Regions from separate parts of the Homo sapiens genome. Here region 1 is linked to region 2. The links are contacts of gene promoters, found by promoter capture Hi-C in blood cells and fetal thymus (Javierre and others, 2016). All regions are on one chromosome and are shown on one strand. Each heading gives the region's core, a stretch centred on a gene start or on the middle of the fragment in contact. The rest is flanking DNA. Distances are from core to core; before and after follow the strand shown.

Evidence for each region. Contacts are between HindIII fragments. The CHiCAGO score rates a contact against its expected background, and 5 or more counts as called.
Region 1: a fragment that was not itself captured here is called in contact with the fragment with the promoter of ZBTB39 in region 2 in 9 of 17 cell types (erythroblasts, naive CD4 T cells, endothelial precursors and 6 more); the score reaches 8.3 in erythroblasts.

What each region holds. Positions count from the first base shown.
Region 1 is chr12:57,118,310-57,125,145 of GRCh38, forward strand. No RefSeq gene overlaps it. Among named protein-coding and RNA genes, the nearest start is that of LRP1, 6.8 kb to the right of the region's middle. RefSeq lists an enhancer at 640-829. The HindIII fragment of the contact is 3,452 bases long and covers 1-3,301 here.
Region 2 is chr12:57,003,118-57,009,974 of GRCh38, forward strand. ZBTB39 (zinc finger and BTB domain containing 39) reads right to left here and starts at 3,429. Exons shown (of 2, transcript NM_014830.3): 1 at 3,288-3,429; 2 at 1-1,844. The coding sequence starts at 1,800. RefSeq lists silencers at 3,098-3,247, 3,268-3,627. The HindIII fragment of the contact is 1,523 bases long and covers 2,188-3,710 here.

The DNA of each region.
Region 1 (6,836 bases), core at 326-2,825, 110 kb after region 2:
CTGGGAAAGATTTTGTTCTTCTTCAGTGCCATGTTCACTTTTAGGATTGGAATAGCTGCAACCACGTTGCAACTGGGAGGGGAGATACCACCAACCAATGAGGATAAAGTATGAGTGTGAAGAGGTGGAAAACCTTTGATGAATCAACCAGCCCTGGACCTGCTATAAAACTCCTCATTGTTGAGCCTGCTTTAATTGGGTCTTCCATTACTTGCTGCTAAATGCATCCCTAACTAAGACCATGGTGAAGCTATATCGCCACAGGAAATGGAGACTCCAGGGTGGGCTGCCTGCCCATCCTCCCACTACCACCCGCCCTATACACTTGAGAGAATAAGCGATACCTCATTAAAGGAGGAATGTTCTCAAGGAAGGATCAGGTTCCAGACAAGCCAAGAGGGGCCAGGATAATGTGAGCCAGGGGTGGCCCCAGGCTTCAAGCAAGGAGATGGGTGGAGAGCAGTATAACAGTGTTAGGAGGAGGAAGGACTGGACTTAGTGGAGAAGGATGGATGCCAATCAAGGCCTGCCAAGGATGACAGGATGTGAGCAATGGTGGAGTCAGCTGATCTCAAGGCTTCAAATGGAGCCCTCAGGCTGTCAGAGGCTTACTGTGGCCAACCGACCTTTACTTCACAGAAGGACAAGTTAGCCATCCTGGTGAATGGGCAAAGTCAAGCAGCTCTGGATGGAGTCAGCTGTGGTCAGGATTGTGCCTCTGCAAGGAAATCTCAGTTCTCTAATTACTGTCTTGCCTCTCTCCCTTCCCCTGTGCAGCCAAGCATCTTGGGAAAATTATTCATATTCAGTCTTCTCTTCCTTACTTCCTCATTACACTGCCAGCTGGCTGCTGCCCCCACCAGTCATGAAACTGTCCTGGCCCATGTCACATACACCCTCCTAGGGGCCTTGAATGATGGCACATTCCTGTCTTTCTCTTGCTGGGCCTTTCAGCAGTACTCAACACTGTTAGCCATTCTTGAGTAAGTTCTCCCCCAACTACTTTTCATGATTCCTTTCTTGGTCTTCGGCCTACCTCTCTGCGTCCTCCCTCTCAGTCTCCTGTCTTCACGGGACACTCTTTCTGTGTGATCTCATCCACATCTGAGGCTCCACAGCCTGGGCAAGGCTATGTAGTATGGTGATTAAAACCTTGGCCGCTGGCAGACCACCTGTGTTCAAATCTCTGCCCTACCAGGTGGTTGCTTTGTAATACCCAAACTTCTATCAAGATGTGGATCATTACCCTCACCCCAACCCACAGGGGAAGCCACTGTTCTGATTTTTTTTTTTAAGTAGAGTAATATAGGATGTAGTTTTATGTCTGGCTTATTTTACGCAACATGTTTTGAGGTTCATCCATGTTGCTGCATGTATCCATAGTTCTTTCATTTTTCTTGCTGAGTAGTGTCCCATGGTGGATCTATACCACAGTTTGTTTATCCTTTTTCAAATGAAGGATACCTGAGCTATAGCCAGCTTTTGGCTACTGTGAAGAAAACTGCTATGAATATTCTGTGTTCAAGTCTGTGTGTGAACATATGCTTTCATTTCTCTTGGATAAATAACTAGGAATAGAATTGCTGAGTCACAGGGTAGGTGTATGTGTAGTTTTATAAGAAACTGCTACATATTGTTCCAAATTGATAGTACATTTTACATTCCCACTAATGATGTATGAGAGTTCCAGTTGCTCTGTATTCCCACTAACATTTGGTATTGTCAGTTTTTTAAAGTTTAATCATTTTGGTGAGTATTGAGAGGTATCACACTATGGATATAATTTCCTTTTTTTTTTTTTTTTTTTTGAGACGGAGTCTTGCTCTGTCACCCAGGCTGGAGTGCAGTGGCACGATCTCGGCTCACCGCAAGCTCCACCTCCTGGGTTCATGCCATTCTTCTGCCTCAGCCTCCCGAGTAGCTGGGACCACAGGCGCCCGCCACCACGCCCAGCTAATTTTTTGTATTTTTAGTAGAGACAGGGTTTCACCATGTTAGCCAGGATGGTCTAGATCTCTTGACCTTGTGATCCTCCTGCCTCGTCCTCCCAAAGTGCTGGGATTACAGGCGTGAGCCACCGTGCCTGGCATAATTTGCATTTTCTTAATAACTAAAGATGTTGAGTTCTTTTCTTTTTCTTTTTTCTTTTTATTTTTGAGACAGGGTCTCACTCTGTTGCCCAGGCTGGAGCACAGTGGCACAATCACTGCTCACTGCAGCCTCAACCTTCTAGGCTCAAGCAATCCTCCTGCCTCAGCCTTTTGAGTAGCTAGGACTGCAGGAATGCACCTCCATATCTAGATCATTTTTAAATTTTATTTATTTATTTATTTTGAGATGGAGTCTTGCTCTTGTTGCCCAGGCTGGAGTGCAATGGCACAATCTCAGCTCACTGCAACCTCTGCCTCCTGGGTTCAAGTGATTCTCCTGCCTCAACCTCCCAAGTAGCTGGGATTACAGGTGCCCACCACCATGCTCAGCTAATTTTTGTATTTTTAGTAGAGACAGGGTATGGCCACATTGGCCAGGCTGGTCTTGAACTCCTGACCTCGTGATCCGCCCGCCTCGGCCTTCCAAGGTGCTGGGATTACAGGCGTGAGTCACCACGCCCGGACTTTTTGTAGAGATGAGGTCTCGATATATTGCCTAGGCTGGTCTGAAACTGCTGACCTCAAGCGATCCTCCCACCTTGGCCTCCCAAAGTGCTGGGATTACAGGCGTGCACCACTGCACCTAGCCTCGAGTACCTTTCATATGCTTATTGTCCATTCATTGGGTTGTCATTTTATTACTATGTTATAGGAATTTTTAATATATCTCGCATTCCTCTGTCCCTTCTCAGATCAATGTTTTGTCTATCTATTTGGCTTACTTCCACATTTTCATAATAATGTCTTTTTTTTTTGAGTCAGGGTCTCACTGTCACTCAGGCTGGAGTGCAGTGGCACAATCAACTCACTGCAGCCTCTAACTCCTGGGCTCAAGCAATCCTCTCTTCTCAGCCTCTGGAGTAGCTGGGACTACAGGTGCACACCATCACACTCGGCTAATTTTTTAAATTTTTTGTAGTGACAGAGTCTAGCTTTGTTGGCCAGGCTGGTCTCAAACTCCTGGCCTCAAGCAGTTCTTCTATGTCAGCCTCCCAAAGTGCTGGGATTACTCCATAATGATGTCTTCTGACGAGCAAAAGTTTTCTATTTTGATGTTTCACTTATCAAGAAATTTATGTTATTGCTTTCTATAGCTTAAGAAGGGGTTGCTTTCCTCCAAATTATGAAGATATTCTGTGTTTTTGTCTAAAAGCTTTATGATTTTAGCATTTGTGGTTTAGGTCTATAATCAATCTTTTTTTTTAGACGGAGTCTCGCTCTGTCACCCAGGCTGGAGTGCAGTGGCGCGATCTCGGCTCACTCCACCCTCCACCTCCTGGGTTCAAGCAATTCTCCTGCCTCAGCCTCTTGAGTAGCTGGGATTACAGGTGCCCACCACCACACCCAGCTAATTTTTGTATTTTTATTTTTTTAATTAATTAATTTTTTTGACACAGAGTCTCGCTGTCACTCAGGCTGGAGTGCAGTGGTGTGATCTCAGCTCACTGCAACCTCCGCCTCTCAGGTTCAAGCGATTATCCTGCCTCAGCCTCCTGAGTAGCTAGGATTACAGGCATGCACCACCATGCCCAGCTAATTTTTGTATTTTTAGTAGAGACAGTGTTTTGCCATGTTGGCCAGGCTGGTCTTGAACTGAGCTCAGATGATCCACCCGCCTTGTCCTCCCAAAGTGCTGAGATTACAGGTGTGAGCCACCATGCCTGGCCTGTTAATTGTGTATTTTTAGTAGAAACAGAGTTTCACCATGTTGGGCAGGCTGGTCTTGAACTCCTGACCTCTGGTGATTCAACTGCTTCAGCCTCCCAAAGTGCTGGGATTACAGGTGTGAGCCACTGGGCCCAGCCTATAATCAATCTTGAATTAATTTTTGCATATGGTGTGAGGTAGGGGTCAAGGTTCATTTATTTCTCCCATATAGATATGAAGTTGTTCCATAACTATTTATTGAACAGACATTCCTTTCTCCACTGGCTGGCTTTGACATCTTTGCCAAAATCAAATGACCTTTACAGTGGGATCAGCCAGTTGGTGCAATACGAAGTCCCGCCTCTCATCCCCTCACAGAAACACAGATTTAACAATTTACTGATCAAAATACCTTTATGAGAAGTACAGAATCCGGTTGAGAAGTGTGGTACCCCAGACAAGTAGAGAGCTGAGAAAAGCTGCACTGAGATGGATCCTACATTCCTGGGTCTGGGAGTGGGCCTTTCCCAGAGATACCATCCTCCAGCAGTAAGAGACCTCCAATAGTCGGGTCTCAGACAGGTTCCAGCTAAGAGTAAAATCCCAGATCAATGGTGAAAAGGAGTTTAAGAATGGATGCTGAAGCCAGGCATGGTGGCATGTGTCTGTAGTCCCAGCTACTTGGGAAGTTGACAGGGGAAAATAGTTTAAGCCCAGGAGGTTGAGGCTGCAGTGAGCTATGATCATACCACTGCACTCCAGACTGGGCAACAGAGCAAAACTCTGTCTCAAAAAGAAAAACGAAGCCTGTGCCTAGTCAACATTGAAGCAAGAATGCAGAAGTTGCACAGGGTGAGATAGGGATGAGCAGGGTGGAGGGGTGGTAAACACAAAGGAATTGCAATAAGAAATCAAACAACTATCTGATTTTTTAAAATTATGTTGAGATATTTGGGGAAAATGATAGATGCATAGAAAACTAATCAAACGAAAAATAATTCCAAGATAAAAGTATATAAAAGTAACATTATAAAATAATAAACGCATATAGAATTTTTATTAAAAAATCAAATGATTGTGAGTCTATTTCTGGTTCTCTATTCTGCTCCATGGATCTGTTTGTCAATTCTCATGCTAGCACCACATAGTCTTGATTACTGTCACTTACAAGTCTTGAAATCAAGTAGCATAAATCCTCCAGCATTGATTCATTTATTTTTCTTTTTGAGACAGGGTTGCACTCTGTTACCCAGGCTGGAGTGCAGTGGCATGATCATGCAGTGATCAGGTTCACTGCAGCCTCAACCTCCTGAGCTCAAGCAATCCTCCCACCTTAGTCTCCTGAGTAGCTGGGCCTACAGATGCATGCCACCACAGCACTGGGATTTTTAAAAACTCTCCAGGTGATTCTAATGTGAGCCAAATTTTCTAGACTCAGATTTCTCTGTCACTATCTTCAGGCCTATACAGTTAACTGGTTAGTATACTAGATCCTACTTCTTTATTGTTTCTGAATCCTCTTCCTCTCCAGCTCCATCACTCATGCATTAAGGACTTCACCAATTTCTCAACTGGCTCTACACTACTTCTAGAAAAAAAATTCTAAGTCCTTACTGTGGCTAAAATCACGCTTTGTGATTAGGCTTTCTGATACTTCATCCAACACTCTCCCCTCAAAGTACCTTAAACTTCAGCTATGATACCATATTTGATGTTCTTCACATGTTTTAAACTTCTCATGCCTCCAATGCCTTTCCTGCCATCCAGCCTAAAACACCCTTTCCTTTTGTTATTGGTTGTCATTTTCTTCCTCTCATTCAACATTTAGCCTGGCATCATCTGCTGCTCTCTGTCTTGACCACCTTGTCTGGAAGAGGTATCCTTCCCATGTTCCCATGCCCTTCTGCACATGCCTTCATCACAGGTGTTAAGGAACTGACTGTATTGTCATTGTCTGTCTCTTGTTGAGCACCCAGCTAACCTGAAAGCTTCTTGAAGGCTGAGACTGTGTGTTTCCGTCTCTTATCCCTAGTGCCTAGCAATGTACTTGCTTATACGAGGTACCTAATATTTTTATTAAGTGAATGAAATCTGGGCTTGGATCTGCACCATTATTTGGGACAGATTCTTTAATCTCTCAGAACATTCTATTTTCTTATACACACTGGAAATAACACCCATGACAAAAGGTAGACTTAAGTGAGCTGATACTGTAAATAAAGTCCACTGCGTGGGCCTGGGACATGGTATGCGCTCAATAAATACTGGTCCTTTTCCCTCTCTCCGCCTGCCATCAGACCTTTCCGGGATACCCTTCCTACGCACACTTCCTTAACTGACCACTAGGTGGTGCTAGCCTCTGGCTTGACATTCAGTTCCAGAGCTACCCAATTAACGCCCCAGCCCAGGCCCTGCTATACTCAGAAAAGGCGGGTATTTTGTAATTTGCTGAGCGACCCGAAAAAAGAGATGCCCTTTACCCACACTAGCTTCTTTGCCCTCATCACCATTCCAGGTATCAATCATGAATTTCAGAGAATTCCTCCATGATTCCCTACTATTATGGTTATAATCTCAACCCAAGGATTTGAAGATGCCTCTTAAGAACAGATGTGGGGAGGAAGAGAAGGCACTGAGGCAGAGAGGATTAAACAATGAATGCTATAAGAGAAATAGAGGGAAGAAGATGCTTGAAGTCACATCCTGTTCCAGGAAAGGCAACTCTAGTCCTAACATTCCTTTCACCAATCAAGAGCCTCTCACGCTGGGTGGAAACGAAGAAGAAAAAGACATGGTCCCTGCCCTCAAGGAGTATATAGTCTAGTGGTGGATACAGAGCCCACAAAATAAAGTGCTAAACTCTGGATACTGAAGCTTTCCTGAATACAAGTTTGGAACAGGAGAGATAGGCAGAGCGAGAATAACAGGAGGGCTTTTCTGAGGAGGGTAGAGGAGCAGGGGAACTGTATCATTAATGGCTCAGATAGAAATATGCATTCTCAGCAGGGTGAGGTGGCTCACACCTGTAATCACAGCACT
Region 2 (6,857 bases), core at 2,179-4,678:
AGGTTGGCCCTGCAGCGCCAGCTCTTCACCCAGAAACTCCTCTGCTGGCAGCTTCCGCTTCTGGAGAGCTGGGTGCTGCAGCCCAAAACCAGGCCGTGCATCAAGGCCACTGTTGCATTTGTGCTGGCTGACGTGGTAGCGATAGGCAGCCTCTGACTTGAAGCTCTGGCTGCACAAGCGGCAGTGGAAGAGGGCGTCTTCCAGACTTTGGTGCACAGCCATGTGCTTCTCTAGAAGATGCCAGTCCACAAAGCTGTTCGCACAGACAGAACAGGAGAAGACTGAGATGCCGAGATGGGACAGCGTGTGCCACATGAGGCTGCAGAGGTTAAGGTGACGCTGGTCGCAGACACTGCAGGCCTGGCCCTTCAAGTTTAGATGGTCAAGGATGTGGCCCCGGACCACATGGAAATCTTTGGCCAATACTTTCCCACAGGCAGCGCATTTCAGCTCTGGGGAGGCTGCCCCTGAAAAGAGACCCAGCTTCCCTGGCAGGGGATCGTTGGGGTGGACAATGATGTTGTTCTCAAATATTCCATCCCGTCGGTGAAGGGTCAGCTGCCACTGGGTAAAGAACTTAGTTTCACACATGTCGCAGGAGAAAAGGAAAATACCAATGTGGGACAGGACATGAGTTACCCGGGAGTTTCGGTCCTGGAAGTGGGTCTCGCAGACCTTGCAGTTGCCCGTCAGCAGGTCCACATGGTCCCGAGCATGCTGCCGGATCAGTTGAATGTTGGGCTCTAGAACTTTCTTGCACACCTGGCAGGGCATGGCCTTATTCTCCCGATTGTCATTCTCTCCAAAAGCCAACTCATCCTCACTGTCATCACTCAGCTCAATCACCTCCTCAGTTGTGCCTATATCCTCAGCAGGGTCTTCAAACTGCAAGTCATCATCCCCCAGGTCCTCGAGCTGGAGCTCATCCATCTGCCCAAAGCCAGGATCTTTGGAGTGCTCACTATTGCTCAGACAGGAGTTGGTCCCAGTGGTAATGTCTACTGCATTGTCAGGGGTGAGGAAGCTGTTTTTACTGAAGTCTCCATTGCTTTGAACTTTGTATGGCTGGCAGGAGCTCGTGCTGGTCTGGATGCCCGTGCTGACAGTGCCTAGGAGTGGCTGGGTCATCATGCTAGGAATGGACGTGAAGGGAGCAGGGGTGTCATGGTCTTCTGTCTTTGGCGGTGGTGGGGGCGGTTGCGGCAGATGCAGGCTATGGTTAGCGTCACTGGCAACATTCTTCTCTTCCTCTTTATAGCTCCCTCCAGCATCACTGGGCAACACATAGTTTCTATCAGCACCAAGGTAGTCCCCACCACCTCGGAGTTCTCCAAGGGGATGGGCAGGTTCTGCCGAAGGACAACTCAGGGTACCAGAGTGGCTCTCACTGGTGCTGGTCAGGGGCTTGGCCCTGGCAGTGCTCTCCAGATCAGGAAAGGTAGAGTGACAGGCCTGGAGGAGGTCCTCCATACCCAGACGCTCAGCTACCTCGTAGATGACCCCAACATTGATCAGGTCTGTGAAGAGTTCTGAAGTGTAGACAAAGCTCAGAACCTTCTCAAAGTTGGCAGGGGTGATGAAGTCCACCACATAGGTCCTGGCAGCATCAAGCCCAGTATTCAGGAAGAGGTTCTGGAAGTAGCCAGCTGCACAGGCCAGCACAGCCTTGTGGGCCGGGAAGGAGCGGCTCCCCACCACAATGGTGACGTCGCACATGGTCTCTGAGAGCCGGCACTTGTTGAGTTCCTTCAGCAGGTTGTTGGGGTGGTTGGTGCTTTGCAGTTTGATCCTCATGCCCATCTTAGCAGCTCCTATGAAATTACCTCCTTATCAGCACAGTTAATCTGTGGATAGCAAGAGAAAAAGATGGATGGCCAAACACATCCGTGCAAAAGAGGGGCTATGCAGGAGAAAATACCATCACTCTGAATGCTTCCAAGCCCCAGGTAGGGATCAGGAGTAAACTGGCATGGAGAGTTCCTCCATTATGACAAGGCAATGACATCTCCCCCTGTATATACTCAAAGAGTTATGACAAAAACCAAAACGACTGATGACAATCTGATAGCTTGGTTTTAAGCTGGTGCCTAGAGACGAACCAGAGGCATTCCCTTGGACACAATCTTATACTTCATTACCAGAGCCACTGGATCAAATTTTTCTCCTATTAATTTCCTCCCAAATACAAGCTTTCCTAATTCATTGAGCATATTCTTTTCCCTCATGATGCCAAATACCATGCACATGCTTGAACACAACTATCAAAGCTCCACTAGCTACTGAGGAACATATAAGGTGGTTCCGTTTTTTAGCTTTGTCATTGCTGTGTCTTCAACCTCTCAATAATCTCCAAATAAATCTCACGTTCTTGAATCCCCATCTCTCTCTGCCTATACTACATACCCGCTCTCTGGCCTTTCGATAACCCAGAGCCCCTCCAGATATTGCTTTATCACAGTCCCTGTATTCTGTGAAGTTAAAACACTCAGAATGCACAGTAAGAAAAGTAGAACACAACTGTGGTAGTATTTAATATTACTTTAATATGTTGTATTCTTTTTCGCCACCCTTTTCGGGGTTTATATTTTGTTGTCCCTGCACTAACAGATTTACTTGATGCCGCAAGAAAGACTTCTAATTATACAGGTAAGACTCCTAGAGGCTTGTTCACTACCACTTTCTGCCCTTTCTGACTCCTGCACGACTAAGGAAGAAGAGCTACTTGCATCCCTGTTCAGTCTCACAACTCTGCCCAACACAGCCCCTTTCTCCATCTCTCCAGATTCTAACAACTCCCAACTTTTTCTGGGGCCCAGGAAGCGTCTAAGTATTGTGGGGTACCGGCCAAGCATCTCCCGGGCCCTGGTGGCCACCCCTGAACGATGGGCGGGTCGGAGCACTGGGCAGCCAGAGGAGAGGGTGGGAGAGGGGGAAGCTGGGAACTTCCAAGGACACCCCAACAATCCCCGGGCGCCGCGGTCTCCCCTCCGGAGTCGCATCTGGGAGGGAAGGGCGCTGCATCGGCTGGGGCGCTCCCTCTGGAGGCAACGAGCGCCTCAGTCCCTCCACAAACAGCGCGGGGCTCACCCGGGTGAGCCTGTTGGGGGCATGGGGCTGAATAAGGGGCCAAGCGAGGGGCGGCGGGGCCGGCCGGGGTCGGCGCGCGGGCGGGGAGGATGGGTCCGGCCGAAGGGAGCGGGCAAGAGGGACCCCAGCAAGAGCGAGATAAATGCCGGGCCGAAGGTCGGGCTTCGGCCAGGGGCAGCCCTCGGCCTGGCCGCGCTTACCCGGCTCTGCGGCGCCCCGAGCACCATCGCCGCCGCCGCTTCACACAAAGGCCCCGGCCCGCCGTGCCCGGCCCGACGAGGAGGCGGCGCCGCCGGCCGCGGCCAGACTCTCCATCCGCCGCGCGGCTCGCCGCGACGGCCCGGGCCGCCCCCGCCGCCCGGCCCGCAGCGCCCCCCGCCGTCCCGGAGGAGGCAGCGCCCCCCGCCGCCCGGCCGCAGCGCCCCCCGCCGCCCGGGAGGAGGCAGCGCCCCCCCACGGCGGGGCCGGGTCCAGGACCTGCGCGAGGGGTGCAGGGGCTTCCAAGTCCCCAGGCTGGCTTTTTCTAAGCGCCCATCCACTGTGCGCGGGACTTGGTGCCTGAAGAGTGAAAAACCCTATCCAAACTCTCTTCACCTCCCCTGTTCTACGCTCACAGTTCCAAAAGCTTCTCCTCAGAACATCTACTATGGGCATTTTACAAAATGTTGTAAGATTGTTTGATTACTATATATCTCCTCCACTAGGCTGTGGGCTTCCTGAAGGCAGGGATCTGTGGCTTTGCACACGGCCGCAGGTCCACACTGACCCTTACCACACTTCCTGGCACAATAAGTGCTTAATACATTAAGCCTGCTTGAATGAATGAAGGAGCACTTGAGGGCTAGACCGCTACTACTGGACCCTTCTGATAATCCACTGCTGTCCCTCCTTCCATCTAGGTGGCCAAATGAAGAAAGTCACCGGATCTCACTGTACTTTGGCACCCCAGGCCTGCTTCCTGAAGCCTGCCCTCCCCAACTCTGTGTAGAACTCGATCACTCTTCCTCCCCACCCTTCTCCCAAATCATCTTTTCAAATGCTTCTGCCCAAGAATTGTCATCAAACGAAAACCACCTACACTGCCTGCCCCACCCACCACCACCAAAGACATTAGAAGTCTTCGTCATGTCGCCCTCCCTCCCTCAGTACAGAGGAAGCTCTTAGGCTCCAAGACCCTTCAGTTTCATCCTCTCTCCCATCCCATCCCAGTCACTGCCTGAAAATAGCTTGCAGCCAAGGACAAACTCCCAGGACAGGCGCATGGTAGGATTCAGTAATTCCTTGATGGATAAGTGGAAAGGAAGGGACACACTGAATGTTGCCAACAGATCTAAGCCAGTTTGGCCATTCAGCAATTGTCCATTCTCTTGATGAATTTGGGAGATTGTGTGTCCTCCTTTCCACAACCTCATTAACTGGTGGCAGACTATACTGAAAGCAAGCACTATACCAAATGCTGCCAAACATGTAACATTTGTTAGCCAGGAGATACAAAAACAGCCATAGAACTGTTCTTATAGTTTGGGGATGAGGCATCTCACTTTACCATCTAGTGAAAGGGTCACTTAGAGGTTGACACAATGTTTCAGTGGCAGGCCCAGCTCTCACAGTTGTGCAAGGTGACTGAGTCTCCCTAAAGTGGAATATCACACAGCCAGCAGGTCCAGACCTCCAGCATGACTCTGGAGACAGAGGGCTGCTGGGCTTGCAAGGGCCTGGGCCTATACAGTCTTTCTAACCAACTGCCCCAGCCATCTCTGGAGGGTTGACCCCAATAAACTTCACATGAAAACAAATCATCCAAAAGACGCAGGTGAAAGTATATACCACTTATACTGAAGTCTTTTTAAAGTAAATCACCATATAGTCACAATAACAAACATATACAAAGTTAAATGGAGAAGAAAGGGCCAGGAATTTAGTCAAGGTCTTGTGGACCAGATCTCTTTAGGCATCAACTGTTTTACAACAGGAAAGGGAGGGTCAGGATCCCTTCACACATTCTTCAAGTACAAACACAGGAATCTAACTTAACATTTGTCTTCATTTTTTTCTGGAGTCCCCAGTACTGCAATTTTTGTCAGTCCCACTAGAGAGCAATCTTTCTGCACTTAATGTTCCTACTTGCAAAGCAATTGTCTCATCTCAGCCTATAAGCCTAACTCCCACCAAGTCTGAGCAGAACCAACTCTTGTAGCTTTCATGACCCAGAGAAAGCCCCTAGACTCTGCAAAAGTGTCCCCAGTTTTAAGCCCTATAGATAGATAATTTTGAAAAGTCAAAGAGATGACTCACTGGAAAAAGGGTCTAGGCTCTGGGGTGGGGGCATTCTTTGACCTCTGGCTATAAAGCTGACATAAGTAATACTAGGGTGAGTATTCCCTCCTTTCCCCGCCCCCCACTATACAGCTGTCATTCCAAAGTGGCCCCAAGTCAGGCTGTAGGAAGATAGAATTTTCACTAGAATGAAAGGACTGCAGGAAGTGGCCTCTGGCTCTGTGGCCCTGTCCTTACACTGCCTTGGGAAATCTATGTGTTGATGTTTTATCAGTGCAATTCAGGGGCATAACAAAGGCCCCTGTACCACGCTAAGATAAGGAGCCTGAGGATTTCACTGGCTGTTCCATTAGGGTACAGAACCCCCCTTAGGATGGCGGGTGATAGTTGACATCATAGATTAGTAAAAGACATCCATACCCATGCATACCACATGTAAGTGCCTTACACATTCTGGGGACTGTTAAGTCAGAGCTGCAGGAGCTGGTAACAGGCACTTTAGAGAGGAGTGGGAGATAAATGTTTTCCCTTTATAATAACTAAGGCAGCCAGTTAACGGTGAAGATATCTGCTCCTCTCTTTCTTGGCCTCGGTAGTAACTTCCCTGTCCACATCCCATCCTAGCTGGATCAAGTTCTGTTTGCTTGTCCACAGCCCTGCTAAACTGTAAACTCTGTGTATGAGTCATCATTTCATCCCCAGGATCTGTCACAGAACCCAGGCTCAGCATTTGGAGACAAAAAAATTGTATAGGGTCATAGATTTGTCCTCCTCTGTGGCTGGGTCTCCGGACAGCCTTGATCCCCACCTCCTTCTCTAATTAAGTAGGGTCAGATTCAGGAATGAATATCTCCCAGACCCATCCTAGTAATACAAGTCATTCTGAATATTTTTTTTCTTTTTCTTTTTCTTTTTTTATTGTTTTTTTTGTTTGTTTGTTTTGTTTTGAGACGGAGTTTTTTGCTCTTGTTGCCCAGGCTGGAGTGCAGTGGCGTGATCTCGGCTCACTGCAACCCCTGCCTCCTGGGTTCAAACGATTCTCCTGCCTCAGCCTCCCAAGTAGCTGGAATTACAGGCATGCGCCACCATGCCTGGCTAATTTTTGTATTTTTAGTAGAGAAGGGGTTTCACCATGTTGGTCAGGCTGGTCTCGACCTCCTGACCTCGTGATCCACCCGCCTCGGCCTCCCAAAGTGCTGGGATTACAGGCGTGAGCCACCGGGCCCGGCCTGTTTTTTCTTTATCTAAAACTGGTCTGTAAAAATCTTTGTGTGTTAGAAACCATCTTCCAAATTCGTGTATTTATTTTAATCACTAAATAAATCTGATACTCATCGTGCAAAGCACTGTGTAAGGCACTGTTCAGGAAATAGATATATACAAAAAGATATGTAAAGTTATTTACATTTAAATATGAAGTGTGTGTATCATAAGTATGTGTGTATTTACCATGTAGCTGGAGGAGTCAAGGAACAGAAAAACCCACCAACCAA